Linked DNA regions of Homo sapiens: region 2 is linked to region 1. Evidence: promoter capture Hi-C in human tissues and cell types (Jung and others, 2019). All regions are on one chromosome and are shown on one strand. Each heading gives the region's core, a stretch centred on a gene start or on the middle of the fragment in contact. The rest is flanking DNA. Distances are from core to core; before and after follow the strand shown. Region 1 holds the start of OR4A15 (olfactory receptor family 4 subfamily A member 15). Region 2 has its middle 12 kb from the start of OR4A16.

Region 1 (2,700 bases), core at 32-2,531:
TATAGAATTATTTCTACTACACCATGATTTTGCCTGGAGTCTTTATTTTTGACATTCCAAATTAATCTGTAATTAGCCATGATCAGTCTTAAACAAATGCGAAAAGTGGGGAAAATGTCTCTGCATTGCCCCCCGACTTTGATTTGTATTACCTGTTTTTTTCCTCTAATGACCTACGTTGTAATAGATGAAAATTCAGTGTGTGTGTGTGTGTATATGTGTGTGTGTGTGTGTAGTTTCTTTTCAAATAAAACTTTGCTTTCATTGGACTTTCATGGCTGGCAAGATTTTAATACATTTATTTCCACATACTTGCTCTCTGAGCTTTGAAATTTGGTTTAATAAAATTTAATAAACATTTAGTGAGCACTCACAATGTGTCTGGTTCTTTGAGCGAGTTATTCCTGGATTCTAGGAGCTCACAGTACAGTGTTTCAGAATGGCAAATATCTAAACATTAGCCTGTAATCTTATGCTCCATATACTGGGTACTACTTTACATAAATATATAAGTAAAGTCAACACATATGAGGCTGTTTTCTTGATAGATCATGGAAGGACAAAATCTGTTCAAAAAAAGATAAATACTATATAAATATCAAAAATACAGTCTTTTTAAGGGATGTTCTCAAGAAAGCAGCTCTATTTTGATCTGTAATAGATTATCTCACATATATATTCACTCACATATACCTTCCAGTTAAAATCATGAAGCCTCATCATTGCAGTTAAAGCAATACATTTGTATTTTTTAAAATTCTTTTTTTAAAATTATACTTTAAGTTCTGGAGTATATGTGCAGAATGTGCAGCTTTGTTACATAGGTACACATGTGCCATGCTGATTTGCTGCACCAATCAACCCATCACCTGCATAGCGTATTTCTCCTAATGCTATCACTCCCCTAGCTCCCCACTCCCCAACAGGCCCCGGTGTGTGATGTTCCCCTCCCTGTGTCCATGTGTTCTCCTTGTTCAACTCCCACTTATGAATGAGAACATGCAGTGTTTTGTTTTCTGTTCTTGTGATAGTTTGCTGAGAATGATGGTTTCCCGCTTCATCCATGTCCCATTTGTAAAAATGAAAAGGATAATTGTGGGAGGATATTCTAAACACTTCTTTTCTAATGAGCTGCTCTGTGTGAGGCCCTGGTCAGGGAAAACGTGGTCGATAAGGCATCACATTTTTGACATGGAGCTTCTGACAAATAATCTCAAATTTATCACTGACCCTTTTGTTTGTAGGCTCCGACACCTGAGTCCAACACCTTCAGAAGAACACATGAAAAATAAGAACAATGTGACTGAATTTATCCTCTTAGGGCTCACACAGAACCCTGAGGGGCAAAAGGTTTTATTTGTCACATTCTTACTAATCTACATGGTGACGATAATGGGCAACCTGCTTATCATAGTGACCATCATGGCCAGCCAGTCCCTGGGTTCCCCCATGTACTTTTTTCTGGCTTCTTTATCATTCATAGATACCGTCTATTCTACTGCATTTGCTCCCAAAATGATTGTTGACTTGCTCTCTGAGAAAAAGACCATTTCCTTTCAGGGTTGTATGGCTCAACTTTTTATGGATCATTTATTTGCTGGTGCTGAAGTCATTCTTCTGGTGGTAATGGCCTATGATCGATACATGGCCATCTGTAAGCCTCTTCATGAATTGATCACCATGAATCGTCGAGTCTGTGTTCTTATGCTGTTGGCGGCCTGGATTGGAGGCTTTCTTCACTCATTGGTTCAATTTCTCTTTATTTATCAGCTCCCTTTCTGTGGACCCAATGTCATTGACAACTTCCTGTGTGATTTGTATCCCTTATTGAAACTTGCTTGCACCAATACCTATGTCACTGGGCTTTCTATGATAGCTAATGGAGGAGCGATTTGTGCTGTCACCTTCTTCACTATCCTGCTTTCCTATGGGGTCATATTACACTCTCTTAAGACTCAGAGTTTGGAAGGGAAACGAAAAGCTTTCTACACCTGTGCATCCCACGTCACTGTGGTCATTTTATTCTTTGTCCCCTGTATCTTCTTGTATGCAAGGCCCAATTCTACTTTTCCCATTGATAAATCCATGACTGTAGTTCTAACTTTTATAACTCCCATGCTGAACCCACTAATCTATACCCTGAAGAATGCAGAAATGAAAAGTGCCATGAGGAAACTTTGGAGTAAAAAAGTAAGCTTAGCTGGGAAATGGCTGTATCACTCATGAGAATGTGACATTCATTCTTTCACAGAAGCAAGGAACAATTTCACTATCCTATCTGATTACATTTCTGTTATCATTTCCTTTTAGTTTTTTAGCTTACTTATTCTGAAGCAGTCATATAAATTAATATTTGTCTAGGTGTAATATGTTACACCCATTACAGACCAAGAAAATTGCATAGGTTTAACAGTGTGTACTGTTTTTGTAATCATACTGTGTTAAGATTCTTTGGTTGATAACAATATTTAGTTTTATTTCAAGCTCTTTTTTATTTAAAAATCATTTATTTATTTTTCTTTTTTATGTATTTTAAATTGTCAATAATTGGGTATATTTATGGAGTACAATGTGATGTTCTGATCTATGTATACATTATAGAAAGATTTCATCAGTCTAATGAATATATCTGTCACCTCCCCAACATTGATTTTTTGTGTGTGGTAACATCAAAAATCTATTCTTCTTTATGGTCTGTGA
Region 2 (2,700 bases), core at 162-2,661, 37 kb before region 1:
TGTGATGCTCCCCACCCTGTGTCCAAGTGTTCTCATTGTTCAATTCCCACCTATGAGTGAGAACATATGGTGTTTGATTTTCTGTCCTTGTGATAGTTTGCTGAGAATGATGGTTTCCAGCTTCATCAATGTCCCTGCAAAGGACATGAACTCATCCTTTTTACGCTGTATAATATTGCATGGTGTATATGTGCCACATTTTCTTAATCCAGTCTATCATTGATGGACATTTGAGTTGGTGCCAAATCTTTGCTATTGTGAATAGTGCCGCAGTAAACATATGTGTGCATGTCTCTTTATAGTAGCATGATTTATAATCCTCTGGGTATATACCCAGTAATTGTATTGCTGGGTCAAATGGTATTCCTAGCTCTAGATCCTTGAGGAATCACCACACTCTCTTCCAAAATGGTTGAACTAGTTTACAGTCCCACCAACAGTGTAAAAGTGTTCCTATTTCTCCACATCTTCTCCAGCATCTGTTGTTTCCTGACTTTTAAATGATTGCCATTGTAAATGGTGTGTGATGGTATCTCATTGTGGCTTTGATTTGCATTTCTCTGATGACCAGTGATGATGAGCATTTTTTCATGTGTCTGTTGGCTGCATAAATGTCTTCCTTTGAGAAGTGTCTATTCATATCCTTTGCCCACTTTTTGATGGGGTGGTTTGATTTTTTTCTTGTAAATTTGTTTGAGTTCATTGTAGATTCTGGATATTAGTCCTTTGTCAGATGGGTAGATTGCAAAATTTTCCTCTCATTCTGTAGGTTGCCTATTCACTCTGATGGTAGTTTCTTTTGCTGTGCAGAAGCTTTTTAGTTTAATTAGATCCCATTTGTCAATTTTGGCTTTTGTTGCCATTGCTTTTGGTGTTTTAGACATGAAGTCCTTGCCCATGCCTATGTCCTGAATGGTGTTGCCTAGGATTTCTTCTAGGCTCTTTATGCTTTTAGGTATAACATTTAAGTCTTTAATCCATCTTGAATTAATTTTTCTATAAGGTGTAAGGAAGGCATCCACTTTCAGCTTTCTACATATGGCTAGCCAGTTTTCCCAGCACCATTTATTAAATAGGGAATCCTTTCCCCATTGCTTGTTTTTGTCAGGTTTGTCAAAGATCAGATGGTTGTAGATGTGCAGTGTTATTTCTAAGGCCTCTGTTCTGTTCCATTGGTCTATATCTCTGTTTTGGTACCAGTATCATGCTATTTTGGTTACTGTAGCCTTGTAGTATAGTTTGAAGTCAGGTAGCATGATGCTTCCATTTTTGGTCTTTTGGTTTAAGATTGTCTTGGCAATGCGGGCTTTTTTTGGCTCCATATGAACTTTAAAGTAGTTTTTTCCAATTCTGTGAAGAAAGTCGTTGGTAACTTGATGGGGATGGCATTGAATCTATAAATTACCTTGGGCAATATGGCCATTTTCACAATATTGATTCTTCCTATCCATGAGCGTGGAATGTTCTTCCATTTGTTTGTGTCCTCTTTTATTTTGTTGAGCAGTGGTTTGTAGTTCTCCTTGAAGAAGTCCTTCACATCCCTTGTAACTTGGATTTCTAGATATTTTATTCTCCTTGAAGCAATTGTGAATGGGAGTTCACTCATGATTTGGCTCTCTATTTGTCTGTTATTGGTGTATAGGAATGCTTGTGATTTTTGCACATTGATTTTGTATCCTGACACTTTGCTGAAGTTGCTTATCTACTTAAGGAAATTTTGGGCTTAGACTATGGGGTTTTCTAAATATATAATCATATCATCTGAAAACAGGGACAATTTGACTTCCTCTTTTGCTAATTGAATACCATTTATTTCCTTCTCCTGCCTAATTGCCCTGGCCAGAACTTCCAACACTATGTTGAATAGGAGTGGTGAGAGAGGACATCCCTGTCTTGTGCCAGTTTTCAAAGGGAATGCTTCCAGCTTTTTCCCATTCCGTATGGTATTTGCTGTGGGTTTGTCATAAAGAGCTCTTATTATTTTGAGATACGTTCCATCAAAACCTAACTTATTGAGAGTTTTTAGCATGAAGTGCTGTTGAATTTTGTCAAAGGCCTTTTCTGAATCTATTGAGATAGTCATGTGTTTTTGTCTTTGGTTCTGTTTATATCATTGATTACATTTATTGATTTGCATATGTTGAACCAGCCTTGCATCCCAGGGATGAAGCCCACTTGATCATGGTGGATAAGCTTTTTGATGTGCTGCTGGATTCAGTTTGCCAGTATCGTATTGAGGATTTTTGCATCAATGTTCATCAGGGATATTGGTGTAAAATTCTCTTTTTTTTGTTGTGTCTCTGCTAGGCTTTGTTATAAGTATGATGCTGGCTTCATAAAATGAGTTAGGGACGATTCCCTCCTTTTCTATTGATGGGAATAGTTTCAGAAGGAATGTTACCAGCTCCTCTTTGTACCTCGCATAGAATTCGGCTGTAAATCCATCTGTTCCTGGACTTTTTTTGGTTGGTAGTCTACAAATTATTTAGAGACTGTTATTGGTCTATTCAGGGTTTCAACTTCTTCCTGGTTTAGTCTTGGGAGGGTGTATGTGTCGAGGAATTTATCCGTTTCTTCTAGATTTTCTAGTTTATTTGTGTAGAGGTGTTTATAGTATTCTCTGATGGTAGTTTGTATTTCTGTGGGATTGGGGGTGATATCCCTTTTATCATTTTGTATTGCATCTATTTGATTCTTCTG

What was found. The method cuts DNA at HindIII sites, captures the fragments that hold promoters and counts their contacts. A contact is called where the count stands out against the background at its distance.
Region 2: a contact is called between a fragment that was not itself captured here and the fragment with the promoter of OR4A15 in region 1, in 1 of the 25 tissues and cell types used here (mesenchymal stem cells).

What each region holds. Positions count from the first base shown.
Region 1 is chr11:55,366,693-55,369,392 of GRCh38, forward strand. It overlaps OR4A15 (olfactory receptor family 4 subfamily A member 15), which reads left to right and starts at 1,282. Exons shown (of 1, transcript NM_001005275.2): 1 at 1,282-2,226. The coding sequence starts at 1,282. The coding sequence ends at 2,226. The HindIII fragment of the contact is 5,098 bases long and covers 243-2,700 here.
Region 2 is chr11:55,329,469-55,332,168 of GRCh38, forward strand. No RefSeq gene overlaps it. Among named protein-coding and RNA genes, the nearest start is that of OR4A16, 12 kb to the right of the region's middle. The HindIII fragment of the contact is 3,441 bases long and covers 1-2,700 here.